Regions from separate parts of the Homo sapiens genome. Here regions 1, 2 and 4 are each linked to region 3. The links are contacts of gene promoters, found by promoter capture Hi-C in blood cells and fetal thymus (Javierre and others, 2016). All regions are on one chromosome and are shown on one strand. Each heading gives the region's core, a stretch centred on a gene start or on the middle of the fragment in contact. The rest is flanking DNA. Distances are from core to core; before and after follow the strand shown.

What was found. Contacts are between HindIII fragments. The CHiCAGO score rates a contact against its expected background, and 5 or more counts as called.
Region 1: the fragment with the promoter of C16orf92 here is called in contact with the fragment with the promoter of RABEP2 in region 3 in 1 of 17 cell types (monocytes); the score reaches 5.0 in monocytes.
Region 2: a contact is called between the fragment with the promoter of RNF40 here and the fragment with the promoter of RABEP2 in region 3, in 5 of 17 cell types (non-activated CD4 T cells, activated CD4 T cells, total B cells and 2 more). The highest score is 10.6, in non-activated CD4 T cells.
Region 4: a contact is called between the fragment with the promoter of TBC1D10B here and the fragment with the promoter of RABEP2 in region 3, in 1 of 17 cell types (fetal thymus). The highest score is 8.6, in fetal thymus.

What each region holds. Positions count from the first base shown.
Region 1 is chr16:30,018,056-30,025,546 of GRCh38, forward strand. It overlaps C16orf92 (chromosome 16 open reading frame 92), which reads left to right and starts at 5,143. Exons shown (of 4, transcript NM_001109659.2): 1 at 5,143-5,349; 2 at 5,672-5,830; 3 at 5,944-6,031; 4 at 6,151-6,649. The coding sequence starts at 5,286. The coding sequence ends at 6,172. It overlaps TLCD3B (TLC domain containing 3B), which reads right to left. Exons shown (of 5, transcript NM_031478.6): 5 at 6,372-7,412. The coding sequence ends at 7,128. It also overlaps a transcript of DOC2A not described here. The HindIII fragment of the contact is 16,537 bases long and covers 1-7,491 here.
Region 2 is chr16:30,760,562-30,768,254 of GRCh38, forward strand. It overlaps RNF40 (ring finger protein 40), which reads left to right and starts at 1,761. Exons shown (of 20, transcript NM_014771.4): 1 at 1,761-1,799; 2 at 1,914-2,116; 3 at 2,557-2,724; 4 at 2,857-2,998; 5 at 3,618-3,824; 6 at 4,377-4,498; 7 at 4,620-4,766; 8 at 4,864-4,938; 9 at 5,602-5,721; 10 at 5,818-5,997; 11 at 6,180-6,315; 12 at 7,333-7,454; 13 at 7,542-7,693. The coding sequence starts at 1,985. It overlaps PHKG2 (phosphorylase kinase catalytic subunit gamma 2), which reads left to right. Exons shown (of 10, transcript NM_000294.3): 10 at 1-615. CFAP119 (cilia and flagella associated protein 119) reads right to left here and starts at 1,501. Exons shown (of 9, transcript NM_001014979.3): 1 at 984-1,501; 2 at 637-668; 3 at 45-107. The coding sequence starts at 1,187. RefSeq lists enhancers at 1-625, 590-739, 1,330-1,509, 1,465-2,102, 1,590-1,849 and 3 more and a silencer at 824-1,053. The HindIII fragment of the contact is 4,015 bases long and covers 1-3,398 here.
Region 3 is chr16:28,921,778-28,928,925 of GRCh38, forward strand. It overlaps RABEP2 (rabaptin, RAB GTPase binding effector protein 2), which reads right to left and starts at 3,461. Exons shown (of 13, transcript NM_024816.3): 1 at 3,326-3,461; 2 at 2,626-2,838. The coding sequence starts at 3,386. RefSeq lists enhancers at 2,593-2,682, 2,713-2,942, 3,921-4,504 and silencers at 3,103-3,322, 3,353-3,702. The HindIII fragment of the contact is 8,433 bases long and covers 1-5,389 here.
Region 4 is chr16:30,368,484-30,375,545 of GRCh38, forward strand. TBC1D10B (TBC1 domain family member 10B) reads right to left here and starts at 2,011. Exons shown (of 9, transcript NM_015527.4): 1 at 745-2,011. The coding sequence starts at 1,700. MYL11 (myosin light chain 11) reads left to right here and starts at 6,319. Exons shown (of 7, transcript NM_013292.5): 1 at 6,319-6,377. The coding sequence starts at 6,375. RefSeq lists silencers at 1,437-1,516, 1,607-1,896. The HindIII fragment of the contact is 4,560 bases long and covers 1-3,625 here.

The DNA of each region.
Region 1 (7,491 bases), core at 3,893-6,392, 1.1 Mb after region 3:
CGGAGTTCAAGACCAGCCTGGGCAACATAGTGAAATCCTATTTCTACCAAAAAAAAAAAAAAAAAAAAAAAAAACTTAGCTGGGCATGATGACTTGATGATGCAGTCCCAGCTACTTGGGAGGCTGAGGAGAGAGGATTGCTTGAGCCTGGGAGGTCGATGCTGCAGTGAGCTATGATTGCACCACTGCACTCCAGCCTGGGCAACAGAGTGAGATGCTGTCTCAAAAAAAAAAAAAAAGAAAGAAAGAAAATTGAACCAACAGATCTTTTTATTCTTATCTTTTACAGATGGGATTCTCTGTCACCCAGCTTGGAGTGTAGCAGCACGATCATGGCTCACTTCAACCTTGAACTCCTGGCCTCCAGTGATCCTCCCACCTCGGCTTCCCAAATTTCTCGGATTACAGGCATGAGCCCCCGAACCTGGCCTAACAGGTCTCAATTTGGGGTTCATTAGGTGAGAGATAAGGAAGCAGGATGATTCCTAGGTTTCTGTGTTGAGCAGACCATCTAGAGGAATGATGGGACCATCCACTGAGACGAAAAGATGGGAGCAGAGCAGGTCTGGAGTAGGACTCCATTTGTGATCCATTGCCTTGGAGATGTATTTGGACATCACAAACAGACATCTCGGAGTCTGGAGCTCCAAGGAGAGGTCTGGGCTGGAAATATACATTTGTGAGTCACTGGCATATAGATGGTATTTAAAGCCACGAGTATGGATGAGATCACCTAGGCAGAGAATATAGATAGCAAGACAAGGCCCCATGCTGAGTTGGCTGGAGAAGGAGTCCTGAGAACTGGTGAGTGTGGTTCCAGGGCTCTGAGTCAGGGACAGGTGCACCTGCTGGGAGGCAGACGGAATGGAAAGAGAGAGAACCATTTGATTTGGCAGATTATGAGCTCTTTTGTGGACTTGATCAAAGCAGCTTCAGTGGATTGGTGGGGACTAAGCCAGATTAGAAGAGGTTGAAGAATTGGCTGGGCGAGGTGACTCATGCCTGTAATCCCAGCACTTTGGGAGGCAGAGGCAGGCAGATCACCTGAGGTCAGGAGTTTGAGACCAGCTTGGCCAACGTGGTGAAACCCCATCTCTACTAAAAATTAAAAAATTAGCTGGGTGTGGTGGTGGGTGCCTGTAATCCCAGTTACTCAGGAGGCCGAAGTGGGAGAATCGTTTGAACCCGGGAGGCAGAGGTTGCGGTGAGCCGAGATCGCGCCACTGCACTCCAGCCTGGGTGACTGAATGAGACTCCATCTCAGAAAAAGAAGAGATTGAAGAGTCCATTAAAGATGAGGGAGTGGAGACAGCAGGTGTAGATGACCCAGAGTTGCCCGTCTACTCTAGAATGATGCGCATCTATGAGTTCTCTCCCTTGTCATTCTTGAGGTCAGGGACCGTGCCGTGGTGATTTCTGAGTCATAAATGGAGTCCAGCCAGTGCGTAGCAGGAGCTCAGCACGTTTATGTCATGGATGAATAAATGGGTGAATGGATAATGCATTGTTTGGGTCAAAATGGCCTTTACTAGTAGAGATAGCTTAATGTTTTTGAAGCATTTGAGGAAACAAAAGAAAGTCAACCCCAAAGGCCATAGGTTCTGTGTCCCTTCTCCCAGCTAACCTCAAGGAGCAGTTGCCTGTGGGCCTGGGGCACGAGCCCTGGCCCAGCGTCGGGAACCAGGTTATTTATTTATTGAGACAGAGTCTCGAGTGTCACCCAGGCTGGAGTGCAGTGGTGCGATCTTGGCTCACTGCAACCTCCACCTACCGGGCTCAAGTGATTCTCCTGCCTCAGATTCCTGAGTAGCTGGGACTATAGGCACGTACCACCATGCCTAGTTAATCTTTTTTTTTTTCTTTTTCTTTTTGAGATGAAATTTCACCCTGTCACCCAGGCTGGAGTGCAGTGGCGCAATTTAGGCTCACCGCAACCTCTGCCTCTTGTGTTCAAGCAGTTCTCCTGTCTCAGCCTCCCGAGTAGCTGGGGCTACAGGCGCATGCTACCGCACCCGGCTTATTTTTGTATTTTTAGTAGAGACGTGGTTTCACCATATTGGTCAGGCTGGTCTTGAACTCCTGACCTCAGGTGATCCACTTGCCTCGGCCTCCCAAAGTGCTGGGATTATAGGTGTGAGCCACCGCGCCCAGCCTTTTTTTGGATTTTTAGTAGAGAGGAGATTTCATCATGTTGGGCAGGCTGGTCTCGAACTCCTGGCCTCAAGTGATCCACCCATCTTGGCCTCCCAAAGTGCTGGGATCATAGGTGTGAGCACCGCGCCTGGCCCAAAAACCACATTACTGAGTCCCTTCTGCTGCCTCTCACATGCCTTGTGGCTTTGGATAAATCCCTTCCTTTTTCTTAGAAGTGATCTGCATGGCGGCTCACACCTGTCATCCCAGCATTTTGGGAGGCCAGGGTGGGAGAATCACTTATGCCCAGGAGTTTGAGACCAGCCTGGGCAACATAGCAAGACTCCATCTCTGCAAAGAAAAAAAGAAGTAGGCTGGGCGCAGTCGCACACGCCTGTAATCCCAGCACTTTAGGAGGCCGCGGAGGGCAGATCACTTGAGGTCAGGAGTTTGAGACCAGACTGGCCAACATGATGAAATTCCGTCTCTACTTTAAAAAACTACAAAAATTAGCCAGGCATGGTGGCATATGCTTTTGATCCTGGCTACTCGGGAGGCTGAGGCAGGAGAATCGCTTGAACCAAGGAGGCAGAGGTTGCAGTGAGCCAAGATCGTGCCACTGCACTCCAGCCTGGGCAACAGACAGAGACTCCATCTAAAAAACAAAACAAAACAAAACAAAAAATAGGCAGGTGTGGTGGTGCACGCCTGTGGTCCCAGCTACTTGGGAGGCTGAGGTGAGAGGATCGCTTGAGCCCAGGAGGTCGAGGCTGCACTCCAGCCTGGGTGACAGATAGAGCAATATCCTGTCTCAAAAAAAGGGAAGCCATCAGCGCAGCACAGGGGAAGCAGCCCACGTGAGCCAGTCCCATAGATATTCGTTTCCCTCCTTCCCCACCCCCGCCCCGCTGCCCCCTTTTTTTCTCTCTCTGGGCTTTTTACTTGTTTAGGAACTCGAAGCGGTTCATGGCAAGTACCCCGAGTCCTAGCCCACCTGCTCTCTGCATAGGGTTGCGGCAGAGCACCTCACACGCGCAGATACACGCCTGGCTTTAGGGGAAGTCGCGGCACTGGGTCTGCAGAGTCCGCTGAGCACGCACCTTCGTTGTGAAACTAAGGAAACCCTGGAGTGTCCTTGGGCTTGGGTGGGATGGAACATGCCCGTGACAGACAGGCCCACCTGCCAATCAGAAGGGCGCTCTCCTTAGCTGGGATGGGGCCGCAGGAGTGGAAATGGCTGTTGGGAGGTGGCAGAGATGGGAGATGGGGTGGCCACGGGGGAGCCGCCGGCCACAGAAGAGGAAACGGAGGTGCAGGGAGCGGAGTCTGCGAAGGACGCGTGGATGGCCAAGAGATGTGCCTCGGAAAGGGCCGAGGGACTTCCTCTGACCAACCCCCGACGGCCATTCCCAGCCATCCGTTTTCCTGCAGCCGCGGATGCAACCTGTGGAAGAGGCGGGAGGAGGCCCGGGAGTCCGCCCCGCTGCGCCTTTCCTAGGGTGGGAGCGTGGACTCAGGCGCGGCCGCTGCTGCCACCTAGTGGGAGACGCCTGCTACTCCTCTCGGTTCCTAACCCCAGGGTCGTTCCCGGCTGAGCACTAAGGAGGGGGCGGGGGAGGACGGAGAGAGCCCTGTGCCCCTGGATCTGCGGATAGGATGCAAGGGGGAGCCTCAGAGAGGAACCCCCCCCCCAGGAAGTGTGCATTGCCCACACTACTTTTCCCCTCTGTGCCGTGATTTCCTCCCGTGTATAAGGGAGGCAAGAGTACCTGCCTCTGGGCTGGGCTTGGTGGCTCACGCCTGTAATCCCAACACTTTGGGAGGCCGAGGCAGGCGGATCATCCGAGTTCAGGAGTTCAAGACCAGCCTGGCCAACATGGTGAAACCCCATCTCTACTAAAAGTACAAAAATCAGCCGAACAGTGATGGTGCGCGCCTGTAATCCCACTCCAGGAGGCTGAGGCAGGAGAATCGCTTGAACCCAGGAGGTGGAGGTTGCAGTGAGCTGAGATTGTGCGTCTGCACTCCAGCCTGGCGGACAGAGTGAAACTCCATCTCAAAAAAAAAAAAAAAAAAAAAAAAAAAAAAGAGTACCTGCCTCTGAGGGTCAGTGCAAGAGCAAATGAACAAATTTGTGCAAGGTACTTGGCCATAAATGGGGTCCAGCCAGCATAGTAATAGGTGTTCAATAAATGCTACCTGCTGGGCATGGTGGCTCATGCCTGTAATCCCAGCACTTTGGGAGGCCGAAGCTGGAGGATCACCTGAGGCCAGAAGTTCGAAACCAGCCTGGGCAACATAGCAAGCCCTCATTTCTACAAAAAATGCAAAAATTAGCCGGGCATGGTGGCACATGCCTGTGGTCCCAGCTACTCAGGAGGCTGATGTGGGAGGATCACTTGAGGCCAGGAGTTCAAGGCTGCAGTAATCATACCACTGTACTCCAGCCTGGGTGACAGAGTGAGACCCTGTCTCTGAAAATACATAAAATAGGCCGGGCGCTTTGGGAGGCCGAGGCGAACAGATCACCTGAGGTGAGGAGTTCAAGACCAGCCTGACCAACATAGTGAAACCCTGTCTCTACTAAAAATACAAAAATTAGCCGGGTGTGGTGGCAGACAGATAAAAGGAAGGGATTTATCCAAAGCTGTAATCCCAGATACTCAGGAGGCTGAGGCAAGAGAATCACTTGAACCCAGGAGGCAGAGGCTGTAGAGAGCCAAGATGGCGCCACTGCATTCCCACCTGGGTGACAGACAGAGACCCTGTCTCCAAAAAAATGAAAATAAATAAAACAAATGTTACCTGTGGTTGATCCAAGGGGTAACCGGAGGTGTGTGGCCCTGTGCCACCACCCCAAATTGTGCCTGTTGTCCAAACACAGCTTCCTTTAGTTCGGGCTTTCAGCAAGATGGCCGTGCCGCATCCCTCCTCTTTGTAAATGCTGGGGCTGCCACCATTATGGTTTTATCATCAGCGACATTCCAGGGGGTGAAGACTGGTCCCAACCTCTCTTCTCCTCTCCTCTTCTGATGAGAGTGAGGGATGGGGGAGGGGTCCCAGCTCCTAGCACTTTCTCCCCTCACCCCAAAGTGCCATCAGAACAGCTCTGGGCTGTGACATCACAGAGCCCCCACCTCATGATAGGAGTCATGAGGCTGTGGCCATGGGTGCTGGTGTGGGTGTGGCTGGCTGCACTAGGGGCCATAGAAACTGGTAAGAAGCTGTCTTGGGAGCAGCAGGAAGGCAGGCAGCTCTGGGAGCATAAAGTGTGATGCCCACTTAGGGACTCGGAAGCCAACCCTGCACCCTCTCATTTTCTCTCCACTCTTCTCTCCCATCCTGCTGGTCCCACCTACCCCCCAACAACCGCGAGCCTTGTCGTGGTGCACCCAGCTGACCCTGAGGGAAATCAAGACCCTCCACAGCCTCTGCAATAAGGCTGGGTGGTCTCACAGGGTCCCAAGTCAGCTTCCGCCTCGAGAGATAAAGGCAGGGGTCAGCTTGGCTGTTGTCACAGAGTTTGCTTGGGTCCTAGCACCCAGACCCAAGCGTGCCACGGCGTCAGCCCTGGGGACAGAGTCTCCGCGCTTCTTAGACAGACCTGACTTCTTCGATTATCCGGACTCAGACCAAGCCAGGCTGCTGGCTGTGGCCCAGTTTATTGGAGAGAAACCCATCGTGTTCATTAACTCAGGTATGAACCAGCTTGAGAAGGGACCTCCCTCCCCGCCAGGGTCTGGAGGAGAGCAGCCCCAGACCCTTCATTGGGCCATCAGAGGGGAGTTAAGGGTCCTGTTTGTCTAGCAGGTTCCAGCCCCGGGCTCTTCCATCACATCCTGGTGGGCTTGCTGGTGGTGGCGTTCTTCTTTCTCCTTTTCCAGTTCTGCACCCACATGTAAGGCCTGCCCCCTTTCTCCAACCCCACCCACCACCACCTTCCTTGGGAGCGGCTGAAGACCCCAGTTCTAGCGGGGCAGGCTGTGACCTCTCCCCTCTGATCTCCATGCCCCACAGAAACTTCCAGAAAGGGGCCTAAAGAGCCGGACAAGGGCTCTGGACTCAACCTGAGCACCCACACCCACCTCCTCTCCTGTTGATGAGCAAAAGTTCCCTGCTTTCCTCCTCCCTGACTGCCCAGCGAGCAGCTGGGGATCCTGTCCCCTCTGTTTCCCATGGCCCAAGCCCCCCACCTCCTCCCTTCCCAGCCCCAAAGAACTTGGTGGCAAGGGCCTTGGTGGCGTTCACGCAGATCGTCTTTTATTAGCGGTCTGTAAAGCACCTCCCAGGGTCCCCCGACCCCAGATTGGAGGAAGCCTTGAGAGGTCAGTAGCACCAGGGACATGGCAGGGCCCGAGGGCGCGATGTGCAGCCGATGGTGAGGGACTGGGCGCCCTCGCCTGCCCCCGGGGTTGTCAGCACTGGGAAGGCTTGGGGGTAGCAGCCACCTCCTTCCCCCAACCCAACAGACTAGTTCAAATTTGGGTAAATAAATAAAATAAATAAGATTCCTCAAGCTGGCCTACCCTGGAGAGGAGCCGTGGTTGCAGCCGGCCACTCGGGAGGCCCGAGGGCCAGCGGGGGTTAGTTGGGGCGTCCTCTCCTCTCGGGTGATGGGGAGCCCTGGGGGATGGCAGCATAGGGGCTGGGATGGCCTTGGCAGAGGCGTCTCCCCACATTCTGACTCCTGGTCCCCTTGAAACCCTGTTGGTGTCCCTCCCCACAAGCCCTCCTGCCCTCAGTGGGTGGGAGGCGGTGCCCCCTCCCCTCCTCCAGCGCAAGGGTGTGCAGGAAGGGGGCAGAGTAGGGGGAAGAGGTCCCCTCTCTCCACCCCCTCAGTCCCCGAGAGATGGGGCCTCTTCCCTTTCGGGGTCATCGTCAGTCCTGGGGTTGTCCGGGCAAGAGGACCCTGGCTCCCAACCCCAGCCATCAGCCCCAGAGCCCTGTCTCCACGGGGGTGGGGGTGGGGAGGGGGAGGGTCCCGGCCCCCGGCCTCAGTCCTGGGCCTGGCAGGCCGGGGGCGGCCGGGAGCGGGGCCAGAAGAGGCGGCAGGCCCCACGGCAGATGAGGAAGAACCAGTAGAGCTGAGGGGCCAGGAGCAGCGCAGCGCCCAGGTTGACGTGGGCAGGGATGGCCAGGGGCACGGCCAGCAGGGGCAGGCCGGCATGGCGCCCGTAGGCCCAGTACAGGTAGGGAAAGAGCAGCACCCGGCAGCAGAGGAAGCTGAGCAGCATCAGGGCCCCGTTCACCTTGTGCAGCAGTGTGTGCTGCTGCTTGTACTGAGGAGACACAGACACAGTGGCCACGGCAGCAGAAGGGCTCGGCCCCCCTTGGCCCTCTCCCTGCCTCCCTGCGACC
Region 2 (7,693 bases), core at 511-3,010, 1.8 Mb after region 3:
CAGCCTTTGCCAAGAGCTCTTCCCACGCCCCCCTCAGTCCCTACTCCCTCATCTCAGCATTGGTGGTCTTCTCCAGCTGGTGCATGGAATGGACGTCCAGGTACTTCCTGTTATAGTAAAAGAAAAAGAGTATTGGTGGCCGTTACCTATCATGACAAGGCTGTGACAGCTAGTGCGTGAGACTGGGAGTTGGCCACCGGCGTGAAGCTGGGCTCTTTTGCCAGCTTGCTGTGTGACTATGCAAATCGTTAACTCTCTGGGCCTAAATGAACTCTTATGAGCCTCTCCATTTCTAAAGCCTAGGGTTAGGAATCTTGAATTCTTTTTTCTGCTCTGCCACTACCTTGTATGACCTTGGTCAAGTACTCCCTGTGGCCCTCAGTGTCCCCCTCTGTACAATACTCCTTAGCGGCCATGAGACTCCATTTACATTCTGTCTTTGGCTCTTTTTTTCTCACACTGCCTCCTCTTTGGACTGGAGAGGCTGGAAAGCCAACTTCCAGTCACCTGGAGTAATTGCATCTCCAGGCCTCAGTCTCATCTGTAAAATGGGGATGCCCTGGCCACAGACAGGACTGTTGGGGAGACAATAAAGAACGCAAATATTCAGTGTAATTTTTGTCTCTTCACACTCACCACATGCAGATCCGGGGTCGGGGCAGCGGCGGCTGCGGAAAGAAAGCGAATTGGGGAAGGCAGCTGCGGTGTCCTGGCCCGTAGCGAATCTCCAGCAGGCCGGAGAAGCCGCTGTAACTTGCCATCTCATCTCAAGGACTAAGGAGAGGCGCGGGCGAGGGAGGGCTTCAGCAGGCCCTAGGTGCTCTACGCGAGCACAGTAACCACCGGGGTCACACACCCCTGCCTCTCCTCGCCCAAGCAGCCCGGGAGACGTCCCGAACGTTAGTAAGCATAATGACAGGTGGCGCCTGCGGGGGAGCCGGTTTATAAATATTCACGAGCAGACCAGACTGTCCCGCCCTCACCGGAAACAAGTTGGCTCCGGGGTCTTCATCCGCTTTCGCCGCCGCCGCCGTCGTCCACTGAGTCCGCACACTCGCACGCGTCCGCGCGGCCGACCCATGCACTGAGCTGCGATCCTTCCCCGCTTCCCGCCGCAGCTCGGAGAGATGTTCAAGCTCCGACTGCACCCTCATTCCCAAAAAGTGGCTGGTCTTGCGGTTGAGCATCTCGCCGCTCTTCCGTGCCGCGAGGCGCCCCGGGCTCCCGCCGCCTAGGTTCCAGGACAGCCAGCGCTCGGTCGGCGGCTACCAAGGCCGGGCCCGTTCGCCTCGCTCCGGCCAATCTACGCGCGGAGAGGCGCGGCGGGGCGAATCCGTGGGGGCGTCTCCCTCCGTCTCAACGGCGACGGTTGCCAAGGGGGCTTGTGAGGGAAGGAAGGCGGAAAGCGCAGGCTCACGCCAGTGGGAGCGAAGAGAACGCGCAGATACGTGAGAAGTTGCGAGTGCCCACCTGGGCGCCCTCTCTTCCAGGTTGCTAATACGAGGGCCGGTGCTGTCCTCCAGGCTGGGAAGTGGGAGCGCGGTGTCAGTTACTATGGGAACTGCCTCTTGGCCAATCACCGAGAGAAAGAGGAGGTGTTTGGGAAGAAGCCAGAGGACCCGAGTGGCGGGACCAAGCGTAACCAATAGAAGCAGAAGATAAAGAAGTTTCCTCACATCCGGGGCTGCCTTTGGCGCCTGCGCCCTGCGCACCGTTGGGGGGGGGGCAGTGGCGTCCAGTGACGCCCAGTGACGTCCGGTGAAATCCAAGATGGCGGCGCTAGGCTGACCCTCCTGCTGGTGAGGGCTCTGGCGCCGGGGGGGACGGGATCCAGCAGGTGTGTGCAGGGTGGAGGGTGTTTGGGGCTGTGGAACACCAGCCGTTCCCACATCTCTGCTCTGTGTCTTCTGCAGGTGACGGAAGTACCGCCTCCTCCCGTTTGACGCCCCTCAGGGGACCCTGCATCGCTCCAGCCGCCGCGGCCATGTCTGGGCCAGGCAACAAACGCGCCGCCGGCGACGGGGGCTCAGGGCCCCCGGAAAAGAAGCTGAGTCGTGAGGAGAAGACCACCACGACTCTTATCGAGCCCATTCGTCTTGGAGGCATCTCTTCCACGGTTCGTGGGCTCTTGCCTTAACCCTCAGAACTTCCCAGAGCCCTCCCTCTGTTCTCTGGCCAAACTGTGCGGAATCTTACACCCACTTCCCCAAGTTTAGCAAGGTCCGCGTTACAGGACCTTGAAAGAAAGGTTAGAAAGAAGCTCAGAACACGACGCCTGTCTTCCCTTTACAGATAGGAAAACAGGTTTCCAGGGGGCGTGTGACTTGTCAAAGACTAAGGATTTACAAGGGGACAGGCAGAAACAACGTGAGCCTCCTCACAACAAAGACACTTTCGCTGTGTGTTGTCTGAGCCTCCTTAGATTCTGTTAGCGGTTAGTGTGGGAATACCTCCATCTCCCATGCATTGCAGATGCTCTGCTCCTCTTTCTCTCTCTGTGATTGGTTTGTGGGCCCTGCTTGACGCTCTCGTCGGCCCCTTTGTTTCCTTTGGTAGGAGGAGATGGACCTGAAGGTACTACAGTTCAAGAACAAGAAACTGGCAGAGCGGCTGGAACAACGGCAGGCTTGTGAAGATGAACTCCGAGAACGAATTGAGAAGTTGGAGAAGCGGCAGGCCACAGATGATGCCACACTCCTCATCGTCAATCGCTACTGGGCCCAGGTGGATACCTTCTGCTTTCAAAGACCAGGCCTTGATTCAGCTGCCAATCCCCAGATTCCCCTGCTAGGAAAGGAGTATCATGTTGGAAAGCACTAAGGGATTCATAACATTTTTGATGTTTTCTCCTTCCAGCTGGATGAAACTGTGGAAGCCCTTCTCCGATGCCATGAGAGCCAGGGGGAGCTGTCTTCAGCGCCTGAGGCACCTGGGACCCAGGAGGGGCCAACATGTGATGGGACTCCTCTCCCAGAGCCGGGGACATCAGAGCTGAGAGGTAGGACCAGAGTGCTGGGATCTGGGGAGCTTAAGTTCTGGGAGAAGTCCTGGGGAGGAGGGGACTTTGGTGTTGGGCCCCTGAATTGCCTATCTTACTACTTCTCACGAAATGGATTTCATGTTTGGGCAGTAAAGTGCAGTGCACAAAAACACAGGCTTTAGACTCTGACTAACTTGGTTTATAGAGCAATTCATGTTTTGACACCCATTTGTTTCAAAACAGTATTATGGTTGAGTATTAAATATGTATTTGACGCTTCCTAGAAATGAGTGTTGCACTTGCTATAAGGGAGGAAATTATAAACATAGTAAGCAGAAAGTACTGGGGCTCCTGAAACGGAATGATTGTGTGTGCATGCATGTGCGTGTGATTCTAATTATATTGGTAAAGTACAGGAAGCTTCCCTGAGGATGTGATACGCAACTCTGTAGCTTTGAGGAAATTACTTTACCTCCCTGAATTTCATTTGTCTCACTTTCAGGATGGAGATAATAGTGCACTATAGGTTGTGTTGATTAAGTGAACCATGAGTATTGAAGGGCTCAGTCTGGAACTTGGTACAGAGTGGTAGTAACTGCTGCTCTTATCCTCATGAGGGTCTGTCCATTCCTTCCAGACCCCTTGCTGATGCAGCTGCGGCCCCCTCTCAGTGAGCCGGCCTTGGCTTTTGTGGTGGCACTGGGTGCCAGCAGCAGTGAGGAGGTGGAGCTGGAGCTGCAAGGCCGAATGGAGTTCTCCAAGGCAGCTGTGTCTCGTGTGGTAGAGGCCTCAGACCGCCTACAGCGCCGGGTGGAGGAACTCTGTCAGCGAGTGTACAGCCGAGGTGGGTTCTTTGTGCCCATACTGAAGGGGTGTCCATCCCCACCTGCATCTTGATGGCACCCCTTCCTGATTCCCCTAATGCCCGAGTCCAAGGGCGGCCAGAATTTCCCAAGGAATAAATCAGCCATGTTCTTGGAAGAGGTAGGTTAGGCTGTAGATGGGGGTTCCAACTTTGATTCCGGGATTGAATGCTAGAGAGATGGGTTGGAGGAGTTGTTGATGCCGGTAGAGGCTCCTGGCCAGAGGCCCCTCTGGAGCACTTGGTGTGGGTTGCGGATCCACAAGGCATAGCTTCAAGGGCTCAGGCCTTGTAGGTTGACAGGCTTCTCCCACCTTAGTTCTGCCACCCTCACCTGGACATGCTGGGAAAGTGGCTCCCCTCTCTGAGCTGGTTTCCTTCTCTGTGCAGTGGGGATAAAGACTCCTGGCTTTGTCATGAGAAATGGGCAAGACAGCTGGTGGATCACACTGGGTATATAGCAGACTCCAGAATGAGTTAGTTGTTTGCCCCATTGCCCTGAGCTGGGCTCTTACCTGGGCCCTGCCTTCCCAGGGGACAGTGAGCCCCTCAGTGAGGCGGCTCAGGCACACACCCGAGAGCTGGGCCGTGAGAACCGGCGACTGCAGGACTTGGCCACTCAGCTGCAGGAGAAACACCACCGCATCTCATTGGAGGTGAGGAGCCGGGGGCTTTGGGGGTGTGATTAGAATCAGGCAGGATTTGGGTTAGATGGGCACTCAGGGACCTCAGGAACCAAGTCCCCCATCCAAGCATCTGCTCCCTCATTGTTCCCAGTACTCCGAGCTCCAGGATAAAGTGACATCGGCAGAGACCAAGGTGCTGGAGATGGAGACAACAGTGGAGGACTTGCAGTGGGACATCGAGAAGCTGCGGAAGCGAGAGCAAAAGCTCAATAAGCACCTGGCAGAGGCCTTAGAGCAGGTGGGGCAGGGGTGCTGGGGCAGGTGAGGCAAGGCTGGGCCCTTGGGCCTTAGCTCCTCCCCTCTACATCCATTGCCTGTCTGTTTTCTCTCCACAGCTTAACTCTGGCTACTATGTATCTGGGAGCTCCTCAGGCTTCCAGGGGGGCCAGATCACACTCAGCATGCAGAAGGTGAGCGGCGTTTTCCTCCCACCCCTTCTCACAACCTCTTCTCTGTTGCACTCTTGAAATTCCCCTCAGGACAAAGGACAAACATCCATCTCTGAGGCCCTTCCTGGTCACTCCTGCTGCTCTTTTTTTCATGCATTCATATACTTGTTGAGTAGATTTTTGAACACTTAGTGCTAGGCACTAGGCATATTGGCGAGAACAAAATAGAGGTCAAAACTTTCATGGACCAGACAAGAAATAAATAAAAGAATATATCTTTAGGTTCTACTTGTGGTAACAGACAAGAAATCAGTAAAATAGCATATCAGTGTGTTATGAGTACCACAAAGATAAAGCACAGAAGAGAGAGCTAAGAGTGAGTTGGAGTCAGTTGGCATCTGGTGGTCACTGTGCCCTTTTTCCCTTTATTAGCACTTTAGGCCTTTCTGGAATGCCTTCCGTGACTCCCCATCAGTTAAGAGCCTTAGTTCCCAGCACCGACCATGCAGTATTGAATTTTCTCCCATTTTTCTGGGAGCCCTTAGGAAAGTACTTGGTTTGGGGTGTCAGAATCGATCATTGCCCTGCACGGGGTGCTTGGGGTGGAGTGTATGCTGGGGATGTAAGGGAGGCCTGCTGCCACGTCTGGCCCTGCCTCCCATGGCCCTGCCTCCCACTCCTTAGTTTGAGATGCTGAATGCAGAGTTAGAGGAAAACCAGGAACTGGCCAACAGCCGTATGGCAGAGCTGGAGAAACTGCAGGCCGAACTTCAGGGGGCTGTGCGGACCAATGAGCGCCTCAAGGTGGGCTGCTGTAGGGGCTGAGAGGTCCTGGGCCTGTAAGGGAGGGACTGAGCCCTGAATCCTGTTGCTGATCCCATTTGGGCATCCCTGCCCCAGGTGGCCCTGCGGAGCCTTCCTGAGGAGGTAGTGCGGGAGACGGGGGAGTACCGCATGCTGCAGGCCCAATTCTCACTGCTCTACAACGAGTCTCTGCAAGTGAAGACCCAGCTAGACGAGGCTCGGGGCCTGCTGCTGGCCACAAAGAACTCCCACCTGCGACACATCGAGCACATGGAGGTATGGCCCTGGAACAGGCGTTAGGGCTGGGCTAAGGGCCAAACCGTTAGTGTTGACGTGTTTGTGCCTTCCGAGGCCCTGTGTGCCAGCCAGGGGTCCCTGGGGAATAGATTCTTCCTAAGATACTGAGTCCTGAGGTGGGACCGAGGGGCTGTGTGGGTCCTTAACACATCAACCCACAGAGCGACGAGCTGGGGCTGCAGAAGAAGCTACGCACAGAGGTCATTCAGCTGGAGGACACGCTGGCCCAGGTACGCAAGGAGTATGAGATGCTGCGCATCGAGTTTGAGCAGAATCTGGCGGCCAACGAGCAGGCGGGTATGTGGTGAGGATAGGGCGGAGGTGGGGCCTTATCTGGGAGTGCTGGGCCCTGGTGTGGGGCTGCTGCTTATCCAGATGCAAGAGGCTAAGGCCTTTTTTTTCACAGAGCCTCGGCTTCCTATGCAAAACAGGGCCTGCACTGCTTGGCTCCCAGGCACAGTGAGGGTCCGCCAGCTGGGGTGGCTGATGGAGCAGGCACATGCAGAGTCTGAGCTGTCAGCCCTGTCCTCATTCTTCTGGTCTGATGACGTCTCTGTCTCTCAGATACTTGTGTTACAAAGATTTATCAAATGCCACCTCTGAGCCAGGCTCTGTTCTAGGGTTTGGGGTTATGCCAGTGAACAAAACAGAATTCCTGCCATGTGGAGCAACATTCTGATAGAAGACAGACTAGAGGAAGACGAACTAGTAGAAGAAAAATGGAAAATGTGTTAGCTCTTGACAGATAGGAAAGTAAAGCAGAAAAGGAAGATAGGAAGTATCAGGAGAAAGGGTGTTGCAATTTTGAATAGGAGGCCAGGGAAATGTACTGGGAAGGTGATATTTAAGAATCTAGAAGAAGTTAACTAACTTTTGTGAATGTTACAGTTACCTTCTCTATTAAAGGGAATTGGATGTATAAAAAAAAAAAAGAAAAAACCTAGGCCAGGTGTGGTGATTCATGTCTGTAATCCCAGCACTTTCGGAGGCCAAGGTGGGAGGATCACTTGAGGCCAGGAATTTGAGACCAGCCAGGGCAACAAAGTGAGACACTGTTTCTATTTAAAAAAAAAACAAAAAACCCCACATATTCTATATTAGCAAAAATCGTATGAATAGGCAGTGTCAAGTTAATTTTGGGTGAGTTTCCTTGAAGTCAGCATTATTTACTTTGATGAGTTCATGCTCCGTTGAGGCCGCAATGTTCCCCTCCTGCACAGTGGGAGTGATGGCATAGCCTCTTACCCCACTGAGGGGTTGGAGTCCTAACCCAGGAACTGGTTCTGACACCTTTACTTGCTGATGCTCCTCCAGGGCCCATCAACCGTGAGATGCGCCACCTGATTAGTAGTCTTCAAAACCACAACCACCAGCTAAAAGGGGACGCCCAGCGATACAAGCGGAAGCTTCGAGAAGTACAAGCTGAGATTGGCAAGGTGAGAAGGGGCCTGCCTGGGAAAAGGTTTGGCTAGACTCCAGTGAACACCATCTGACTTCATCCCTCTTCCTCTCTGCCTTTGCAGCTCCGGGCCCAGGCCAGTGGCTCTGCCCACTCCACCCCCAACCTGGGCCACCCAGAGGATTCTGGCGTCAGTGCCCCAGCCCCAGGGAAAGAGGAGGGTGGGCCAGGCCCTGTCAGTACCCCCGACAACAGAAAGGAGATGGCTCCAGTGCC
Region 3 (7,148 bases), core at 2,211-4,710:
AACATAGTGAAACCTTGTCTCTACTGAAAACACAAAATTTAACCAGGCATGGTGGTGGGCGCCTGTAATCCCAGCTACTTGGGAGGCTGAGGCAGGAGAATTGTTTGAACCCAGGAGGCGGAGGTTGCAGTGAACCGAGATTGTGCCACCGCACTTCAGCCTGGGTGACTGAGCGGGACTCCGTCTCAAAAAACAAAAAAACAAAAAAAAGAGAGTCAGGGTCTCCCTCTGTCACCCAGGCTGGAGTGCAGTGGTGCAATCATAGTTCACTGCAGCCTTAAACTCTTGGGCTCAAGTGAACCTCCCACCTCACCCTCCCAAGTAGCAGGGACCACAGGCACTTGCCACCATACCCAGCTAAGGGTCTCACTTTGGTGCCCAGGCTGGTCTCAAACTCCTGACCTCAACTGATCCTCCCACCTGAGTAACATGGACTTGTTTGATTTTTGGTAGAACGTGGTCATTTTTTGTTTGTATAGATATTGACCTATTATTGTGCACTAACAGTAGAAGTAAAGGTTCAGCTGGGCCGGGCGTGCTGGCTCACGCCTCTAATTCCAGCACTTTGGGAGGCCGAGGTGGGCGGATCACAAGGTCAGGAGATCGAGACTATCCTGGCTAACACGGTGAAACCCCATCTCTACTAAAAATACAAAAAATGGGGCCGGGCGTGGTGGGTCACCCCTCTAATCCCAGCACTCTGGGAGGTCGAGGCAGGCAGATCACGAGGTCAGGAGATCGAGACCATCCTGGCTAACACAGTGAAACCCCGTCTCTACTAAAAATTAAAAAAAAAAATTAGTCAGGCGTGGTGGCGAGCACCTGTAGTCCCAGCTGGTTGGGAGGCTGAGGCAGGAGAATAGCATGAACCCGGGAGGTGGAGCTTGCAGTAAGCCAAGATCACACCACTGTACTCCAGCCTGGGCGACAGAGTAAGACTCCATCTCAAAAGAAAAGAAAAAAAAAATTAGCCACGTGTGGTGGCACACGCCTGTAGTCCCAGCTACTTGGGAGGCTGAGGAAGGAGAATCGCTTGAACCCGGGAGGTGGAGGTTGCAGTGAGCTGAGACTGCACCACTGAACTCCAGTCTGGGTAACAGTGAGACACTGTCTCAGAAAAAAAAAAAAATAGGTTCAGCTGTTAGGCTGCTTGGTTTCCAACCTTTGGCTGTTTTCCAGCTATATGACCTTGGGCAAGTTATTTAACCTCTCCGGGCCTCAGAGCTTCCTCTGTAAAATGGAGATGGGTAATAGTTCCTGCCTCACAGAGTTTGTTATGAAGATTAGTTACTCATAAAGCATTTAGCTCAGTGCCTGGCACATAGTGAGTGCTCAAAACATGCTACCTGGCCAGGCGCGGTGGCTCACACCTGTAATCCCAGCACTTTGGGAGGCCAAGGCAGGCAGATCGTTTGAGCTCAGGAGTTCAAGACCTGTCTGGGTAACATAGAGAGACCCTGTTTCTACAAAAAAATACTAAAAATTAGCCAGGCATGGTGGCATGCACCTGTAGTCTTGGCTACTTGGGAGGCTGAGGTAGGAGGATCTGCTTGAGCCCAGGAGGTGGAGGTTGCAGTGAGCTGAGATCACACCAGCGTGCTGTGACGCACTCCAGCTTGGGCGACAGAGTGAAACTCTTATTGACTCAAGAAAAAAAAAAAAAGCTAGCTATTGTTATTATTTAGGACACACCTGGCTTTTCTTATATAGTAGATATAACAAGTTTCCCTTAATAAATGTATGTAAACTTTTAAAATGTGGATCTATTTAAAGAACAAATATTAAGTAAACAGCACAGTAAGTTGTACAAGGATGTGTCTACATTGCACAGGCAGGTGGATCCTGAAATGTGGGAAATACAGCCCCAGAGAAGTCTCCAGCCACCAGCAGCTGTTAGAAAGGGAAATCGCATGTTGGGAAGGGAATTTTAGGAAGTTTACTCTGGAAGCCAATGTCAAGGCCACACTATAGAGGAAGATCTGTGAGAAGGTTGGGACAAAAGTCCAGGAGAGAGTTGACGAGAGCCCCACCGCAGCAGGGGCATAGCAGCGGGGGCAGCTCTGACATCTGTTTCAGAGTCTCTGGCTTCTGCTAGAGGAAGGAGAGTAGAAAACAGGATCAGCAGCTGGGGCGTCTGGGGCCAGAGGACCAAGTACAAAGAACGTGGGGCGGAGGTGGGGAAGCTGGTGCATGGCGTGGGGTGGAGGGGGGAGTGTCTGGGGAAGGCTAGAGAGCAGAGCATTAGACTCACAGAGACTGGGCCAGGGCTGATTCTATTTCCCAGAAGTCCAGACTAAAATGAGGTTGGTTTGGGGAACTGAGAAGTTTCTCGCCCATCTTCAGGGTTGATCAATCATCAGTGAGGGACAAGAAATGACATGGGACAAGGCAACAGATAGAAGCTGGGAGCTAAACTTAGCTATAACTGACAGAGCTGCTGCTATCACATGGAGGGCCTCTATGCAAATTTTAAAAGGGCGGCCCTTCCTCTGGGCCATAGGCATGCCCTGTGCCAGGCAGCCCTGCTAACCTATCCCATAGCTTATCTGTGCCCCCAATCCCTTTCTCGTCATGCACTCCCCAGTATGGGGTTGATGGGGAGTCTAGGTGAGTCCCGCGTCTCACCTTTCAGGATGGCCTGCAGCGAGGCCACCTCCTCTTGGCACTGCCGCTGCACCGCAGCCACAGCCTCGGCCTTCGTGCTCTCGCTCACCTCTGCCACAGCCTTCATGGTTTCCATTTCTGCCAGGGCGCCTGCCAGCTCAGCCCGAAGCCGGCTGAGCTCACCTGACTCGGCCTCACCATTTGCCCCTTCCTGGGACCGGGAGTCCTCCAGTGCTGTGGGGGACAGGGATCAGCCTCTCTTCCCATCTCTTACCCCAGGCCACCTACCGGCTTAGCAAGTCCTGCAACCTAGTACTGTTGCCTTCATCTGGGGCCTCCTTCACCTGGGCCCGCCCGGCTCACCTGGCCCCGCCCCTGCCCCGCCCCCTTCCCACTCGCTCTGCCGGGTGCTGCCTACACTCCATCTCTTCGCGGTGGCCAGTTTCACTCAGTCCTCTCTTCGGTCCCACCTGGCCCCGCCCTCCTAGTGGCCGCGCCCCTTCCTCACCGGGCCCCACTTCGCACCTGTCACTGGCCCTACCCCTTCAATGGCCGGGCCACGCCCCCTTTTGCCTGTGGCTGTAGGCCCCGCCCCCTTTCCCGACGGCGTGGCCCCGCCCCTTCCTCCATCATCCCTCTCCACCCCCCATCCGCAGGTGGCTGGCTCGGCCCCGCCCCCAGCATCACCGTTCCCCGCTTGCACGGACGCCCCCTCACGTACCAGCCCCCGGCCGCCGCCGCCGCTCATCGTCGTCCGCGGCCACCGGCGCAGCTGCCGCCATTGCCTCAGCGCAAACGGCGGATTCCCGCACTCCCTGGTGACGGAGCGCACCGCTTCCGGGTCCTCTCGGCTGTTTCCGGATCCGCTCGGCTGTTTCCGGATCGGCCCCGGGCTGGAGGCCCCGGACGGAGGATGGGGGGATTGCCGAGCCTCGGCCGAAGATTCCCGAGTCGGCCCCCGGCCCCGGCCCCGGCCCCGCCCCGGCTCTTCTTGGCTGGGTCGCGCGGTTCGGGAGGACGCCTGCCTTTCAAGCCCGGAAGAGGATCCTTAAGAGGTCTTGCCCGGCGTCTCTCCGTGACCTTGGAAGCCCTGCTCCAATTATGCCTCCTCCGGGACACCGGCCTGCGGAGAGCTCCCCCTCGCTCCCTCGCTGCCCCTGCCCGGAGCCAGCCTTTGATCGGCTCCGGCCGCCCTTCCGCCCGAGCCTGGCTTGCGTTACCGCGAATTGTGGCGGGGCCCTCCCTGCACCTCCGCCCTCTTGGAGCGTCCCTCGGGGCAGGGCCGGGTCGGCTTCATTTTTCTGAGCGCCTCGGAGTCCCCGCGTAGTTAGTCGGAGTCTGAAACTTGCACGTCCCCACCCCCATTTTGTTACTCAGCCAGTCACCGCTTCCTGCTGGCCCCCCTTTCCTCCTCCCAACGCCCTCAAATCCCTCCTCTCCTCTCCGCCTGTGTCTAGATCAGGCTCTTTATCTGTGACCTCCACCCGGACGGTGACAGGCAATTCAGATTTATGTCCAGAGCCTTGGTTCCCCTTCCCTCAAACCTTTTTTCCCTCTGTAAAGGACACGCCAGGAACCTGGAAGTCCTTGATTCTACGTGTCCTCCTGCAAGTCCCGTAAACTCTACTTCCAATGTGCTGACTATTCCAGAATGTGCCCCTTTTTCTCCATCTCCAGCGCTAACACTCCGTCCCAGCTCCCATCACTTCTCCTGAACTTCCGCAGTGTCGACTCCACCCTTTAATTAATTAATTCTCCGTAAAGCAGCTGGAGCGATTTTTGTAAAACAGATAATGCAGTTTGAAAATGGCCAAAGGTAGAACGCTTTTACACTGTTGGTGGGAATGTAAATTAGTTCAACCATTGTGGAAGACAGTGTGGTGATTCCTCAAAGACCTAGAACCAGAAATACCATTTGACCCAGAAATCCCATTACTGGGTATATACCTAAAGGAATATAAATCATTCTATTACAAAGATACATGCACGAGTATGTTCATTGAAGCACTATTCAAAATAGCAAAGACATGGACTCAACCCAAATGCCCATCAATGATAGACTGGATAAAGAAAATGTGGTACATATACACCATGGAATACTATACAGCCATAAAAAGGAACGAGATCATGTCCTTTGCAGGGACATGGATGAAGCTAGAAGCTATTATCCTCAGCAAATTAATGCAGCAACAGAAAGCTAAACATGCATGTTCTCACTTATAAGTGGGAGCTGAACAATGAGAACACATGGACACAGGGAGGGGACCAACACACATGGGGGCCTGTGGGGTGGGTGTTGGGAGGGGGGAGGGAGAGCATCAGCAAGAGTAGCTAATGCATCCTGGGCTTGATACCTAGGTGATGGGTTAATGGGTGCGGTAAACTACCATGGCAGATGTTTCCCTGTGTAACAAACCTGCACATCGTGCACATGTACCCCAGAACTTGAAATAAAGAAAATGGACAAAGGATATGAACGGATATTTCACTGCTGTCACAGGTGGCAATATGTGCATGAAAAGATGTTAAACATCATTAGCTATTTATTCGGGAAATACAAATTAAAACCACAATTGCTTTCATCACTACGCACTTCTTGGAATGGCTAAAATAAGAATGCTAACACCAAATGCTGGTGAGTATGTGGAGAAACTAGGTTTCTCATATTTTGTTGATGGGAATGTGAAATGGTATAGCCACTCTGCAAAAAGAGTATGGCAGTTTTGAACAAAACTAAACACGCACTTACTTTTTCATCAAGTATAAAACCAAGTGTTTTCCACCAAGCTTGGAGCTGAGGTCTCGGCTCAAATGTTACCTCCTCAGTGAGGCCTTCCCTGATCACCCTAACTAAAATAACCACCTCTGGCTGAGTGTGGTGGCTTATGCCTATAATGCTAGCACTTTAGGAGGCCAATGGCAGGAGGATCACTTGAGCCCAGGGGTTCGAGACCAGCCTGAACAACATAGTGAGACCTCATCTCTACAAAAAATTAAAAAATTAGCTGGGCATGGCCGGACACGGTGGCTCACGCCTGTAATCCCAGCACTTTGGGAGGCTGAGGAGGGCGGATCACGAGGTTAGGAGATCAAGACCATCCTGGCTAACATGGTGAAACCCTGTCTCTACTAAAAATACAAAAAATTAGCCGGGCATGGTGGCATGCGCCTATAGTCCCAGCTACTTGGGAGGCTGAGGCAGGAGAATTGCTTGAACCCGGGAGGCAGAGGTTGCAGTGAGCTGAGATCATGCCATTACACTCCAGCCTGGGCAGCAGAGCAAGACTCTGTCTCAAAAAAAAAAAAAAATTAGCTGGGCATGGTGATGTGCATCTGTAGTCCAAGCTACTCAAGAGGCTGAGGCGGGAAGATCTACTTGAGCCCTGGAGGCTGAGGCTGCAGTGAGCATGATTGTGCCACTGCACTCCAGCCTGAGGGAGAGAAAGACCCTGTCTAAAAAAAAAAAAAAAAAATTAAATCCAGACTCCCTGTGCATGCAGCAGGGTTTCTGGGGAAGGGGCTGAAATAATGACTAGAAATCAGCCTCCAGTCAGTTTGGGGAGGGCCTTCCTGACAGCTCTCAGGTTTGAGTTTATCCTGCAGGCCCTGGGAGCCACTGAAGGCCATTGAACAGGGGAAGCACATGACTAACATCAAAGAAGTTCTCTTGACATGCGGAGTGTAGATGGGAACCAAAAGATATAGGGGACAGGGAGCCCAGGAGAGAGGCTGTTGAATTGCTTCTGATTGTGAAGGAAGGATTCAGAGGGGAAAATTGATTCCATCAATATTTAGGATATAAAATGGACTGGCCTTGATGATAGAGTGCATGTGGGGGAAGAGAAAAGAAAATTTCGACCAGATGCGGTGGCTCATGCCTGTAATCCCAGCACTTTGGGAGGCTGAGTTGGGTGGATCACCTGAGGTCAGGAGTTCAAGACCAGCCTGGCCAACATGGTGAAACCTTGTCTCTACTAAAAATAGAAAAATTAGCTGGGCGTGGTGGTGCGCACCTGTAATCCCAGCTACTCAGGTGGCTGAGGCAGGAGAATCACTTGAACCTGGAAGGCAGATGTTGCAGTGAGCCGAGATCGCATTACTGTACTCCAGCCTGGGCAACAAGAGTGAAACTCTGTCTCAAAAAAAAAAAAAGAAAAGAAAATTTTCTTTCAGCTAGGTACGGTGGCTCATGCCTGTAATCCCAGCACTTTGGGAGGCTGAGGCAGGAAGATTGCCTGGGCCCAGGAGTTCAAGACCAGCCTGGGCAATATAGTGAGAAAGGAGAATAAAAGGAGCTTTCCTCGCCTCTACAAAAAAAGGGAGAGAGTTTTCTTCCTAACTTCTTTTCCTTTTTTTTTTTTTTTGAAATGCTCTTGTCTCCCAGGCTGGAGTGCAATGGCGCGATCTTCACTCACTGCAACCTCCGCCTTTCAAGTTCAAGCGATTCTCCTGCTTCAGCCTCCCAAGTAGCTGGGATTACAAGCGCGCACCACCGCACCAAGCTAATTTTTGTATTTTTAGTAGAGATGGGGTTTCACCATGTT
Region 4 (7,062 bases), core at 761-3,260, 1.4 Mb after region 3:
TCAAAGGGGCACAGGAACAACGGGCAGGATCCAGAGAGGGGGAAGGAAGAAGTCAGAGGCAATCACCCCCTACCTCGGGAGTGACTCAGGCCCCGGAGAGAACTAGGAAAGAGTCAGCCCGGCTGGGGAGATGAGGAAATGGGGAAGAGGCCTCTCCCACCCTTTACTTCAGTGCAGATACAAGACTGCCCTGTTTCACAGCGGGATCCTGACTGCACAGTCTCCCTTCCATCAGCCAGACTTCCCCACCTCTCTACTCCATCCCTGGGACCTAGGGCTATGGGGGAAGGGAGATGCCTGCACCCCTCCCAGGCTATCCACCCTAAGGGACCAAGGGTCTCTACCAGAACCCTCGCCCAACCAACCCTCCAGAATATCCGGCCTGTAGCTGGAGTTCCCCATCAAAGAGCAGGGATGACCTCAGGTATCATCTCATTCAATCCACTTTATAGAGGAAAAAACTGAGGCACGGAAATGGGGAAGCCACTAGCTCAAGGGCACACAACCCATCAAAGGCAAGGCTTAAACCCAGACCTCTTGACCCCTGGTCTGAAACTCCACTAACATGCCAATGTCACAGGCACCTCAGGATGCTCAAGACACGGCAGCTCGCGCTGATCACCCCGTGGATCCTCAGAGGAGGCTGGGCTGCCAGAGTCTGGGCAAAGTGTATCGTTTTCGTTTCGCCCTCCCCCAACCTTTGCTTCCCCGAGGCGGTCCCGCTGGGTGCCCACTGGTACTCACAGGCTGCCCGAGTACTGGCTGCCCCCAAGGAAGCCATACTTGTCCGTCTTGCGCAGGGCCAGCCCGTTTATCTCTGAATCTGAGCCCATGGAGCTCACATCATCCGCCAAGGACTCCAAGGTCCCAGACATGAGGCTCACGGAGTCCAAGTAACTCAGCGTGTCCGGGGCCTGCCCTCGAGGCCCAGAGATGCCAGGTCCCAGGCTGGACGTGGAGCCCAGGTCTTGAGAGTTTTCAGCAGGCTCCGGAGCTGGGGTCACGGTCACGACAGCTACCGGAGCCTCACAAGTCCCAGAGGGGCCTGTGCCAGGGCCTGAGGGGTCCTCAGGAGCCTGTCCTGCTGATGCTGATGTTGCTGCGGCAGCTCCATGCCCACCTGTCACTTGTCCTGATGCACTCCGTGCAGTCACTCCTGAGGCCACTGTGGTTCCCGGCTTGGGGGCAAGCGGGGGTTTGGCGGTCAGGGCACCAGGAGCCGTTCTGGAAGGGGTCCTGGTAGGGGTCCCGGTGGGGGTCCCTGGTCCTGGGGCGGGTGAGGGTCGAGCCTCCTCTGTCTTCGGCGAGTCTGCCCCTGCGGCCAGAGCCCTCGATGTCTCAACTCCAGCCACTGCCGCGGGCTCTGGGGATTCCGGGCCGGAGGGGAGCTGCGGCTTTGGGGCTTCGGGCGAGGCCTCCAGGGTCAGCACCACCACCGTGCTGCCCGTGACAGCCGGGGCTGGGGCCGGGGCTGGGGCCGGGGCCGGAGCAGAGGTCTCGGCCGACCCCGGGACCCAGGCGGGCCGCGCCTCCCCGGGGGCCACCAGGGTGACGGGGGCCGAAGTGGCCGTAGTCACTGGAGGTCCCGGAGCCACCACCACGACGGGCCCGGCCCGGGAACCCCGGGGCGGCGGCGAGGGGGCCGCGGGGGCGCCATGACGGCGCGGCGGGGCCACCAGGGGCGCCGTGCCCGTCTCCATGGCCGCGGGCCGCCCCTCACATCCCCCCGCCGGGGAGGCCGCAGAAGGCGCCGCCCCTCGGGCCTCCCGGCGAGGCCAGCCGAGAAAGGGGAGAGGGCGAAGGGCGCGGCTCGGCGCGCGCCGGGGGCGGAGCGGCCGCTGGGCGCGCAGAGGCGGGGCAGGGGTCGGGGGGCGCCGCGCGCCGGGGTCTCTCTCGAGCCCTCTCACCCCCTCGCGCGCTCTCGCCACCGCCCCCTCCCTCCTGCTTGGGGGCGAGCCGCCGACCTCGCGCCTGCGCACACGCCGCAGAGCCGGCTCCGCGCCAGCGTCTCGGCGTTCCACGCCTGCGCGCGGACTGGCTCATCGCGCTCCTTTTTTCTCCCGCCTAGTCAGAGGATTTGGACGAATAGTGGGAGAGAGAGAACTGGGCTTCTGCCAATCGTTGGAATCGTGGGCGGGGCTGGAGGCGAAAAAGGGGTGGGTCATCTGGAAAGAGGAAACGGAGAAAGCTAGGGCTGTAAGACCAATCAGAGGACGAGGAAAGGCAGGGGGCGATGGGACGAAAGAAATAACCAATAGAAACGCAGGGGTCTGAACCTCCTGGCCAATGAATATGACTGAAGGGTGAATGACCGCGGAAGGGCGGAGGAGGAGGCAGGGCTGTGCGAGTAAGAGGTGGGGCCTGGAGGCTTCTTAACCAATAGGAATGGTAAAAAGGGAGCCAATGAAAAGGGGAGCAGGTGGAGGTCAAATTGACAGGCAGTGATGTCTATTTAGGCGGTGACAGACAGCATCCGCAGTCAATAGGAAGAGCTGAAGAATTCTTTAGGTCTCCCAAAATGGTCAGTAAGGAATGACAGCTGGGAGGAGGCGGGGCAAGCTAGAGATTAATTCGCCCCGTCAGCCAATGATCGTGTTCTCCCACTTTGGCCACAGGACAGGAAAATAGATAGCTGTCTCAGCCAATGGGAGCATCCAAAGGGCAAAGATGCTGCCAGCAGGCGGTGCCAGCCCAGGGATAGTCGGTGACAACCGGAGACAAGCCTTATGGGAGGGTGACAGCTGGGGACAGCACGGAGAAGGGGCGGGGGCATTAGTGCAGCCCTCAACCAATGAGTGCCGCGCTGCCCCCTCTCGAGTCCTTTCCGGTCCCCTATTCTTCGTTCAGCTCCTGAGCCCCACACTCTGGTGGTCTGTGGGACCCTGAGCCCCACCACAGATCCAGTGCCCTGACCCAGTACTCTCATCCTTTACTCTATAATTCTCCGATCTCGGCCCCCAACTAACCCCAACACTCCAGGCCCAGGTGGCAATAGCCAGAGCCCCCAGATCCTATAAGCAACCCATATCTCTGCTTCACCCATTTCCTGCGGGAATCCCAACCTCCAAGTCCCTCTCCTCAGTTCCCATCTATCTGAGCTCCTCCCCAGAACCCAGGCTCCAGTTCCTCAGACCTTATCCCTCTGAGTACCCCCTCCATTTCTTCTAGTGGGGATCTCAAACCCCAAATCCATGAATCCCTAATACCATGAACTCCCCATATGTGTGTTACTATTCTTTTGGGGATCCAAGGCCCCAGTCCCGTCAACCCCTCTCCCCTCACTGCCACATCCCTCTGTGCTCCTCATGTTCCACTGAGAATCCCGACCTCAATCTCATGAGCGCTCCAGGTTGTCCTTAGATCACAAGCATAAAGACCTGACGTTATGAGCTCCAACCTTCCAACTTCTAAACGCCCTCTTCTTTCTCTGACCCCCATATTCTGATTTCCATATAGCATCCACCATCCTGGAATTCCAGTGAGACCTAGCTCCCGACTTCTCAGCTCCTCCTTGGTTTCTGAGTCCTCTAAGGTCCCTCACTCCCAACTCAGCCCCATGTCCTGTCAATTCCCACTCAGTGTCTGATCTCCTTCTCCTCACCTTTCCCATCTCCCGTTTGACCCAAGCTTCCTGAGCTCTCCTCCCATTCCCCTTTTTGGAGTCCTCCTCCTCTCCCAGAACCCAGTAATAAGTGGGCTCCTCCCTGGCCTGGACCCCCGTGGTAACCCTATAAGGCGAGGCAGCTGCTGTCTGAGGCAGGGAGGGGCTGGTGTGGGAGGCTAAGGGCAGCTGCTAAGTTTAGGGTGGCTCCTTCTCTCTTCTTAGAGACAACAGGTGGCTGGGGCCTCAGTGCCCAGAAAAGAAAATGTCTTAGAGGTATCGGCATGGGCCTGGAGGAGGGGGGACAGGGCAGGGGGAGGCATCTTCCTCAGGACATCGGGTCCTAGAGGGAGCGGGAGGAGAAGGAGATGGTTGTCCTTGCCAACTTGGGGCTTCCTCAGCCACTATTTTTCCAGACTTCTGCTGCATGGAGGGGACTGGGTCACTGAGGCCCAGAGGGAGAAGAGAGGGTACATCAAAGTCACACAATCAGCCAAGCTGGCTCTTGGCCAGAATAAAGTGAGCTGCCACTGGCTATCAAGGCACCTCACAGAAAGTGACCAGCTGGCTGTCCTTTTAGGGTCTTTTCCTCCCCTCTTGAGTTCCAGCCTCCACACCAGTACCCAGAGAAAATATTCTAGACTCATACTAGATCACATCCTTCTTCTGCATGAAACCTTTCCAAGGTTCCCCAGGGTCTCCGTCCTGTGCCTGGCAAAGGCCCCTCAGGGGCTGGTCACCAGCCCCATCACAATTCTGGCCACCTGAACACTTCTGATCTTCCGCTCTCCAGGCCTTTGCTCAGGCCATGCCCTCCGCCCAGCACATCTGCTCCTCCACCTGCACCTGACTCCCTGGCCCTCGTGAAGCCACTCCCATACTCCTAGACAGGGCTGCTGCGCCCTCCACTTCTGGGCTCCTGACCAGCTCTGGTATGTCAGTTTCTGCATTCATTCCTGTCTCTATTAGTTATAAGGCAAGTTCTGTGGGATGGGAACTACATCTCCCTTTTACAGAGGGGAAACCAAGGCCCAGCACAAAACCTGAGACCACAAAGCATCTTGCCTCAAAAAATCCCTCTTGGCTCGGCGCGGTGGCTCATGCCTGTAATCCCAGCACTTTGAGCACTTTGGGAGGTCGAGACGGGTGGATCATCTGAAGTCGGAATTCAAGACCAGCCTGGCCAACATGGTGAAACGCCATCTCTACTAAAAATACAAAAAATTAGATGCCGGGCACGGTGGCTCACGCCTGTAATCCCAGCACTTTGGGAGGCCGAGGCAGGCAGATCACAAGGTCAGGAGATCGAGATCATCCTGGCTAACGCGGGGAAACCCCGTCTCTACTAAAAATACAAAAAAATTAGGCGGGCGTGGTGACACGCGCCTGTAGTCCCAGCTACTCGGGAGGCTGAAGCAGGAGAATCACTTGAACCCGGGAGGCGGAGGTTACAGTGAGCCAAGATCACGCCACTGCACTCCAGCCCGGATAACAAAACGAGACTTCATCTCAAAAAAAAAAAAAAAAAGTAGCTGGGCATGGTGGCGGGTGCCTGGAATCCCAGCTACTCAGGAGGCTGAGGCAGAAGTATCGCTTGAACCCAGAAGGCGGAGGTTGCAGTAAGCCGAGATCGCACCATTGCACTCCCACCTGGGTGACAAGAGCAAGACTCCATCTCAAAAAAAAAAAAAAAGAAAGAAAAGAAAAAAAAATTCCCCTCTCCTTGAAGGGAGGTAGGAGACCCACCTGATCCCTCAGCTTCCACAGATGGCTCTTTCTCACCACCCTCACACTTACACACACTTGACTATGAACTCCACCATGTGGGGGTGGAGGGATTGTGTCTGCCAAAGTACATCCACAAAGCCCAGCCTAGCACGTGGCACACTGTGTGTGTTCAATACATGTTTACTGGGTTTATTTTATTAATTTAAAATAGAGACGGGGGCCAGGCGCAGTGGCTCACACCTGTAATCCCAGCACTTTGGGAGGCCTAGGTGGATGGATCACCAGGTCAGAAGATTGAGACCACTCTGGCCGACACGGTGAAACCCTGTCTCTACTAAAAATACAGAAAAAAAAAATTAGCCTGGCTTCGTGGCACACCTATAATCCCAGCTACTCGGGAGGCCAAGATAGGAGAATCACTTGAACAGGGGAGGTGGAGGTTGCAGTGAACCGAGATCACACTACTGGCACTCTAGCCTGGGAGACAGAGCGAGACTGTCTAAAAAAAAAAAAAAGGGAGACAGGGGTCTCACTATGTTGCCCAGGCTGGTCCTGAACTCCTGGCCTCAAGCAATCCTCCTGCCTCAGCTTCCCAAAGTGCTGGGATTACAGGTGTGAACCACTGCACCCAGACGTTTACTGGGTTTAAATCTGAGCCCACCCCACTCAGGGGTACAGGATCTGGTTCATTTATCTCCCAGAATGATGCCTTGGGTTGCGTCCCCTCTAAACTCTGGCACATTCCAGCCCCTCTTTGGGAGAAAGAACATCTCTTCTTGCCCAGGCCCTAGTGAGACATGCATCGCAAGACATGCTCCCCCCTTCCTCCCCGCTGGGCTCCAGCTGCTGCCAGCCCTCCAAGAAAGGAGAGGCCCTGAGTTGGGCTATTTTGGTATCTGGGGTGGGCACCCGCAGGGCTAAGGTTACCTTGGTATGTTAAGGGCTCCCTGGGGCAGGACTATATAACCCCAGAGGGACTGCCCCATGCTGACTCCTTGCTTCTTTCCAGCCGGAGCCGCTGCCTTGCCCCCCGGAGACTGAAGACATGGTGAGTGAGAATCCTCCAACCCCTGCCCAGATCCCTTAGACCTCAGGGCAGCCTCACCCTTTGAAAGAAAGTAGCTGGTTCCCAGTCCAACAAAAAGTTAAAAGGATGCTCATCTCTTTCTCGGCATCACTGATGGAAAACAGACTGTGTGATGGCCTAAAGGATCCAATCAATGATAATCCGCCCAGACATTCAACTCACAGGGGCCCAGTCCCTCTCAAAGCCTGATCCATTCATTCCTGTACTCCATCTTCCTAAGGCCCTCTGGCACCAGCCAGGCAATAACTCCCATCCCATTTTACAAATGAGAAAGTAGAGGCTCAGGCCAGGTGCTGTGGTTCACGCCTGTAATCCCAGCACTTTGGGAGGCCAAGGTGGTTGGATCACTTGAAGCCAGGAGTTCGAGACCAGCCTGGCCAACAGGCGAAACCCCGTCTCTACTAAAAATACAAAAATTAACTGGGCGTGGTGGTGCATGCCTGTAATCCCAGCTACTACGGAGGCTGGGGCATAAGAATCGCTTGAACCCGGGAGGCAGAGGTTGCGGTAAGCCGAGATCGCAGCACCGCACTCCAGCCTGGGTGACAGAGCAAGACTCTGTCTCAAAAAAAAAAAAAAAAAGAAAAGAAAAGTAGAGGCTCAAACAGGGCAAATGAGTGGCTGGGGTCACACAGCAAGTCTGAGG